Regions from separate parts of the Homo sapiens genome. Here region 1 is linked to region 2. The links are contacts of gene promoters, found by promoter capture Hi-C in blood cells and fetal thymus (Javierre and others, 2016). All regions are on one chromosome and are shown on one strand. The core of a region is centred on a gene start or on the middle of the fragment in contact, and the rest is flanking DNA. Distances in the headings are between cores, read along the strand shown. Region 1 holds the start of CYB5R1 (cytochrome b5 reductase 1). Region 2 overlaps LOC124904486 (a long non-coding RNA gene).

Evidence for each region. Contacts are between HindIII fragments. The CHiCAGO score rates a contact against its expected background, and 5 or more counts as called.
Region 1: a contact is called between the fragment with the promoter of CYB5R1 here and a fragment that was not itself captured in region 2, in 1 of 17 cell types (fetal thymus). The highest score is 5.4, in fetal thymus.

The regions. Positions count from the first base shown.
Region 1 is chr1:202,965,288-202,969,391 of GRCh38, reverse strand. It overlaps CYB5R1 (cytochrome b5 reductase 1), which reads left to right and starts at 2,135. Exons shown (of 9, transcript NM_016243.3): 1 at 2,135-2,201; 2 at 2,494-2,643; 3 at 2,792-2,864; 4 at 3,399-3,505; 5 at 3,892-4,021. The coding sequence starts at 2,187. RefSeq lists silencers at 1,037-1,331, 1,948-2,107, 2,178-2,227. The HindIII fragment of the contact is 3,400 bases long and covers 1,162-4,104 here.
Region 2 is chr1:203,265,547-203,269,722 of GRCh38, reverse strand. LOC124904486 (a long non-coding RNA gene) reads left to right here. Exons shown (of 2, transcript XR_007066798.1): 2 at 1-2,609. Among named protein-coding and RNA genes, the nearest start is that of LINC01353, 20 kb to the left of the region's middle. The HindIII fragment of the contact is 1,574 bases long and covers 652-2,225 here.

The DNA of each region.
Region 1 (4,104 bases), core at 886-3,385, 300 kb after region 2:
GAGCAAAAGAGCCTTCCCACAATTACTGAGTCCAACACTTAGTTTCCAGGATAAGCCCACACCCAACCATTCTGTCCTGTGGTTCCCAGTGATACACTCACACTTGTTAGAATGTGCCACTTTGGGGTTCAGAAAATGCAATCACTGAGAGAAGCCCGAGTTGTAGTTATGCTCTCCTTTCGTTCCATACTTCCCCCTCTCTTGCCACATCTATCCACTAGAGGGAGGAAGGCCTAGAACCTCTTTAGCCAGAGTGGAGCAGTGGCAAGGATCAGTAGTGTGGCTTCTTAACCAAGCCAGCAGTGGGGATGTCAGAAGCACCGGAACATAATCGCCTCATTCTCTCGGAACAGAAAAGAGGAAGGGTCCCTTCCTTCCCCTTTTCAACCCTCTCTGCATGGATTGGCATGTCACCATGATCTGGTGCACTCACTTCCCTCAAGTCAGTGTGCAGGCTGCTTAAAAAATTCAGAGGAACATGTACTGGGGTCTTAGGAACATTTTCAGCCAGTGGAGAGGAAAAGGAAAACTAAGTATCTCTTGGATCATTCACAGAGTTCACCAAATACAACTGAAAACTGGGGGCTCTAATGTCCCTGCTGCCCTGATGGTATTAGTTTAAGATGTTGACACTGACATCTGCAGAGATCTCATCCATCACGGTATATCAAAGAGCAAATGTCATTCTAGTTGAGAAACTCATGTATGAGAAAGAATGGTCATCTTGGGAAATCTGTAGCTCCAGCGGCTCCTGATGTTTTTTCCTGCCTCCTCCTGTCCCATGCTTGTGCCCCAGGCAGAGCTCATTCCTAAAACCATAGCTGACCCTCTGTGCTGTCTTTTAAGTTATAATAGTAGCTGCCAACTGTTGAATATTTTGCTTTATGACAGGCACTACACTAAGCACGTTAACATATCTCACTGAAGCCTCACACCAAAGCTATGAACTAGATACAATCTATCTGTAGATAATAATATATATCCATCTGTAGATATCCATCTTATATCCATCTGTAGATGAAGAAACTCAGGTTGAGTAAGCTATCTAAGGTCACAGAGCCAATAAGTGCTAGAGGCAAGATTCTTATTCTGTACACTCTGCCTCCAAAGCCCACTTCTTTGACCCTAAGGGCACAAGAACCCAAATCAGGATGTGAAGCTTGGTCTTTGAAACCAAAGGAAGCTCCTGAATCATCCTGATAGGCTGACGGCTTGGCGCTGTAAACAAAATCAGTCTTTTGTCAAAAGGAAATGAAGTTGCCATGCCACTGTTCACTCCTGTAAGAGACTCCTCTGGGCTGTTCCATTCTCTTGCTGCAATTCAGCCGGTTGAAAAACTAAGGTGACTGCACAATGATTAACTTCAGGCCCTTCTGCTCTACTTTGAGCCTGTCTCTGGTTCATCGTTACACTCTCCGCTCAGCACCCGCAGACTCAAGAGATTTCCAATCCCCCAATTTAGCGTGGTTCTACCTTAGGCAGAACTCCCATCCAGTTCGGATATAAGCGGGTCGAAGTGGCAGGGACCACCTCGCTGGGAGGAGAGGCTGGAGCTGCGGTCTTAAAAGATCTTGGGGCCGGGCGCGATGGCTCACGCCTGTAATCCCAACACGTTGGGAGGCCGAAGCGGGTAGATTATTTGAGCCCTGGAGCTCGAGACCACCCTGACCAACACGGTGAAACCCAGTCTGTACTAAAAATACAAAAAAAAAATTAGCCGGGCGTGGTGGCGCACGCCAGTAGTCCCAGATACTCGGGAGGCGGAGCCAGGAGAACCACTTGAAACTGGGAGGCGGAGGTTGCAGTAACCGAGATCGCGCCACTGCACTCCAGCCTGGGCGACAGAGCGAGGCTCCGACTCAAAAAAAAAAAAAAAAGTATTGAATAAGCACCGGAGACCCTGAGCCACCGAGTAGCGGAGGGAAAGGGTGGCGCGCAGAGGGGCCCAGCCCCGCCTCTGCCGGACCCCGCCCCCAAAAGGCCCCGCCGCCGCCACCTCCTGCTAGGCCCCGCCCCCGACAGACACCCCCCCCCCCCCCCGCCAGGCCCCGCCTCCTGCCCCCCCAGCCGCGAGGTCCTGCCTCCTGCCCGGCCCCGCCCCCGGCCTGCCCCGCCCTCCGACCCGCCCCGCGGCGCATTGTGGGATCTGTCGGCTTGTCAGGTGGTGGAGGAAAAGGCGCTCCGTCATGGGGATCCAGACGGTAAGACCCTCATTCAGTATCCTCCACTGGGGGACCCCTCCCCATCTGGTTCTGGCCACTCAGCTCCGGACCAGGGGCTGTCGCTGCCGACCCCGCCCCGCAGGGCTCTGGGCCCACCGTGGATGCTGGGGTCCCGATCCCGCACATCCGGGCTCGGGACTCCGCCAGGTTACCCCTCTGCCCTTGGCATGCCTCCGCGCTGGAGCTCGGGATCGCCACCCCTGGGACGGTCACCACCCAAGCCCCGGGCTCTTACCCAGCCTGGCGGTCACGCTGCCTCCTCTACCCACAGAGCCCCGTCCTGCTGGCCTCCCTGGGGGTGGGGCTGGTCACTCTGCTCGGCCTGGCTGTGGGCTCCTACTTGGTTCGGAGGTCCCGCCGGCCTCAGGTCACTCTCCTGGACCCCAATGAAAAGTACCTGCTACGACTGCTAGACAAGACGGTAAGTTGGGGAAGAAAGGGCCAGGGTGAAGGAGGGGACCAGAGTGCTCCTGGCATGGAGGGTACAGCACCCACGGTGGTTGGGATGTCCAAGGGACGTGGCAGCGCCAGGCGCGCTTGGTGAAACACTTGTGTCCTCCACCCTCCAGACTGTGAGCCACAACACCAAGAGGTTCCGCTTTGCCCTGCCCACCGCCCACCACACTCTGGGGCTGCCTGTGGGTAAGGAAAGTGTGGAATGGGCTCCTTTCCCTGGTATCCTCAGAAGGTGACTCCCCTCCTGGGATCTCATGAAACACGCTGCTTCAACCGGTTTGCTCCACACACCATTCCCCTTCCCCCACTTGGCTCTGCATCCTCCAAGCTGTGAGGTGCCACTGGGCCCCTCTAGAGTGTGGCTTCCATGACCCCCATCCAGCTTTAACACTCAACAGTCTTGCCTCTTCCCTGCAGGATTTGCTAATTACTCCCTCTGAGCAAGCACTACTAACTTTTTCCCATTGCCCAGACCCTTTTGGCTCATCTGTCAAGGTCCTGGCAGTAACTGGCAGGAAACGCTGGAAATAAGTGTTTCCTCAACTGGGCGCTTATAAGAGATCCAACTGAGGGCTCAATGGGGCAAATCTTCCCTGCCTTGTAGCTCCTTGGGACCACAGCAGGAAGCAAGACATCTTGTTCTCTCAAATCTCTTTGAGTATTTTGAGGGATGCAGCACATCACAGACAACCCTTATGTAGCTCTCTGCACGGTCCCCAGGCAAACATATCTACCTCTCCACCCGAATTGATGGCAGCCTGGTCATCAGGCCATACACTCCTGTCACCAGTGATGAGGATCAAGGCTATGTGGATCTTGTCATCAAGGTAAGGGGCTAGGAAGGGACCCAGGGGCTGCTTACCCATTCTTTCTGGGATTTGTAGAAATTTCTAAGATTTGCCTGACAGCAGGAAATGGTATGTACTCTGTGGATGTGAAGAAAGTATGAGCTACTCAGGAGACTGAGGCAGGAGACTCACTTGAACCCAGGAGGCGGAGGTTGCAGTGAGCCAAGATTGCGCCACTGCACTCAAGCCTGGGCAGCAAGAGCAAAACTCTGACTCAAAAAAAAAAAAGAAAGAAAGAAAGTATGTAGACGGGGAAAAGATAGCACATATCTGATCCCTGCCCCAGCCTCAGGGAGGTTTAGTCAACATGGGGCTCAGAAACCAGTGACATTCCAAATAAGGTATTTTTCTCTCTGTCTTGTAAGGTCTACCTGAAGGGTGTGCACCCCAAATTTCCTGAGGGAGGGAAGATGTCTCAGTACCTGGATAGCCTGAAGGTTGGGGATGTGGTGGAGTTTCGGGGGCCAAGCGGGTTGCTCACTTACACTGGAAAAGGTAATGACCTGTCTTCTCCTTGAGCCTGTCTCCCACTTTATCAGTTCCCATAGTCCTCTTGGCACAGTATGGCTGTGTGTACA
Region 2 (4,176 bases), core at 189-2,688:
CTGACACCACAGCCTGGCTCCCTCCTTCCCCACCCCACTCTCCTTCCTTTTCTTTCTTCTGAGGGTTCTTCCCCAACAGAAGAAGATATGCATGAAATCTGTCCCAGGCTCTGCTTTTAAGGAATCTGGTCCACTTGTCTGCCGTACAAAGTTGCTATGAGGGTTAAATAATATAATACAGATGAAGAGATTAGCCCAGTGCCTGGCATATACAGTGCATATCCAATTAATGTTAAAGATTGCCATTATCCATGAGACTGGAGCATCAGGAACATCTTAGTGTAATAGTGAGGTGTGGAAATCTGGTGAGTGAGTCAGTGGATTGAATTTTACATGCTTAGGGACTGGGGTGGGCAGAGAGAAGGGCAGCTGGGTTTCCTTGGGTATCACTGGTTGTCTCAGCTTTGGGCAGTGAGGGTCCTTTACACAGCTAGGGAAAAGTTCCAGTCATTACATACTTCTACCAGCAGAGGACGCCACTTCCATACAAATAAGTGTTTCCTCTGCTATCTGATGCAGTTTTCATCAAAGCAGTCTAGGCTGGCAGGAAAGATCAGGTACATGACAGAGCAGAAAGTGCCTTCAGATTTGCACAGATAATAGGAGAGGGCAGAACAGGAAGAAACAGTGAGTTAAGCTGTTCAGGAAGCTTCGTGGGAGGTGAGGCCTTGAGCAGGGCACTCTAGCACCAGAAGGAGTATTGAGTGGAGATGGCATTCCCAGGGAAGCCACTACCCTAGGCAAGGTGACCAGGGCCTGAGCCAGGGCCGTGGCAGGGAGGCAGCCACGAGAGGGTATGAAGGACACCAAACACAGGGACAGGACTGATTTCAGCTGAGAGGTCTAGGAGGAGATCATGGGCCCACCAACATGGGGTAGACGTCAGGAAGGAGCACGTTTTTATAGGACAGAGCACACTTCTCCAACTGGTTTGACTGCCCTGTTACAATGTCCTCTGCAAGCCATCATTCTGTAGGATTCCTGTTTTGTGTGGATTCTAGAAACCAGTGAAATATTCAGAGGTGTTAATAGCATCAAGATTTCATTGGTTCTTTCCATTCTTTTTATTTTTATTTTTTGAGATGGGGTCTCAGTCCCTGCCCCAGGCTGGAGTGCAGTGGCACCATCACAGCTCACCACAGCCTCAACACCCCAGGGCTCAGGCGATCCTCCTGCCTCAGCCTCCTGAGTAGCTGAGACCATAGGTACGTACCACCATGCCTGGCTAATTTTACATATATACACATATATGTGTGTATATATAATTATATACGTATATATACACATATATACATATATAATTATATACATATATACATATATACACACACATATATGTGTATATATATACACACATATATATGTATATATACACATATGTATATGTGTGTGTGTGTGTGTGTATATATATATATATATATATATATATATATATTTGAAGAGACAGGGTCTCCTTACGTTGTCCAGACTGATCTTGAACTCCTGGGCTCAAGCGATCCTCCTGTCTCAGTCTCCCAAAGTGCTGGGATTACAGACGTGAGCCACCGCGCCTGGCCAGCTTTTTCCGTTTTGAGTAGAGACGGCAAGAAGCGCCCCACAGCTTGCCCTTGCTTCGGAACTCGGGGTTGTGAATCAGTCAGGATAGAAATTAATGGTGCAGTGGGAATAAAGAGGAATGTTAGATGATCTCGCAGGGGTGGGGGAGAACCCAAAAAGAAAGAACGAACGTGAAGAAGCCTAGCTCTCCGAGACTGGGGTTCAGTCCTTGCTGGAGAAAGTGCGTTGCAGCCCATTGAGGGCAGAAGAGTTCTCTGGGTTGTCCCTGGACAGAACCGGGCCACAGTCAAGAGAGCGAACATTGTGGGGAAGAGAACGGCAGGCCACGGCTCAGGGGCTGGAAGCCCCCTGCTGGGGTGCCCACAAAATTCCTCCGGAAGTTGCTGTTGGGGGATGCGCTGAACTCATGGCAAAGCCACCTAGGACTCACGCAGAACTTGCTGGGAAGCTGCCCCCGGGGAAGTGCGCATGCGGGACTTCGCAGGAAACTGGCTGGGTCAAGTCGGCTCCACCAGGAATCCACCCAAGACGGTGCGGCTGAACTCGCCACTGGGAAACTAAGTGGGACACCCACAGAACTAGCCGTGAAGATGCCTGCGGAAGTGCCCTGAAACTGAGCTGAGAACCCCGGGGGTTCAGAGTCCCGAAAGCAAGTAGGAAGGAAAGCTTAAAGAAACCGCAAGAGAAGTCTCTTCTTCTCTCTGTCCTCTAGCGCCCTCTACTGACACAGTTTAACACTGTGCCCGCTGGCAAGGGAGAAACGTTTGGAGCCAGAGAGTAATAAACTGGTAACTGGTACAGGATGTTAGCCAACTCCACTGAGGATGGGAGAGCTCTTCTATAAGCCCTTTTTGAAAAATAGTACTTGAGGACATAGTCCTGCCAGCTAAGAAACGAATCAAAATAAATAATTCAACAGAAAAAATGTAAAAGAAAAGGCAAAGAACAATCAAATCAATAAAACTAAATGAACGAAATAATTATAATTAATATAATATGAAACTAATCATTATTATTAAAATTAAATATAATAAATATTTCATGATTATAAATTGGGGTTTTTGTATCACAATTTACTTTGACAAAAACTGGGAGGTAGCAAAGAAAGAGTATACTATTAATAAAAAGTGAGAGGTGGCAAAATAGTATGCATGTATCTTATTGATCGATATGGCCTTATTCTTGATGTTAAGACATTTAGGCCGGGCGCGGTGGCTCACGCCTGTAATCCCAGCACTTTGGGAGGCCAAGGCGGGCAGATGGCCTCAGCTCACCAGTTCGAGACCAGCCTACGCCACACGGTGAAACCCCGTCTCTACTAAAATACAAAAAATTACCCGGGCCAGCCGCCCCTTCTGGGAGATGGGGGGGCGCCCCCGCCCGGCAGCCGCCCCATCTGGGAGGTGGGGGGCTCCTCTGCCCGGCCGCCCCGTCTGGGGGGTGGGGGGCCCCTCTGCCGGGCCGCCACGTCTGGGAAGTGAGGAGCCCCTCTGCTCAGCTGCCACCCCGTCTGGGAGGTGTACCCAACAGCTCATTGAGAATGGGCCATGATGACGATGGCGGTTTTGTCGAATAGAAAAGGGGGAAATGTGGGGAAAAAGAGAGATCAGATTGTTACTGTGTCTGTGTAGAAAGAAGTAGACATAGGAGACTCCATTTTGTTCTGTACTAAGAAAAATTCTTCTGCCTTGGGATGCTGTTAATCTATAACCTTACCCCCAACCCGGTGCTCTCTGAAACATGTGGTGTGTCAACTCAGGGTTAAATGGATTAAGGGCGGTGCAAGATGTGCTTTGTTAAACAGATGCTTGAAGGCAGCATGCTGGTTAAGAGTCATCACCACTCCCTAATCTCAAGCACCCAGGGACACAAACACTGCGGAAGGCCGCAGGGTCCTCTGCCTAGGAAAACCAGAGACCTTTGTTCACATGTTTATCTGCTGACCTTCTCTCCACTATTGTCCTATGTCCCTGCCAAATCCCCCTCTCCGAGAAACACCCAAGAATGATCAATAAATACTAAAAAATTAAAAAAAAATTAGCCAGGCGTGGCAGCGTACGCCTGTAATCCCAGCTACTTGGAAGGCTGAGACAGGAGAATCACTTGAACCTGGGATGCGGAGGTTGCAGTGAGCCGAAAGCATGCCACTGCACTCCAGCCTGGGCGACAGAGCGAGACTCCATCTAAAAAAAAAAAAAAGGAAGTTAAGAGATTTTAAAAATAAAAGGTATCAGCCAGGTGCAGTAGTTCACCCCTATAATCCCAGCATTTTGGAAGGCCAAGGTGGGAGGATTGCTTGAGCCCAGGAGTTTGAGACCAGCCTGGGCAACATATTGAGAACCACCCCCCACCCCCATCATCTCTACAAAAAAGATAAGTTGCCGGGCAAGATGGTGCGTGCCAAGCTGGTAGTCCCAGTCCTCGGAGGTTTGAGCCCAGGAAGTCAAGCCTGCAGTGAGCCAAAATTGAGTCACTGCACTCCAGCCTGGGCAACAGGGAAAGAACCTGTCTCAAAAATAAAAAGATAAAAAATAAATAAAAGTTATCCATCCGCTAATAGAATAAAAGCTGAATGGAAAATTCCCAAGAACCTAGAGAGAAAGAGTAAGAAAAAAATGG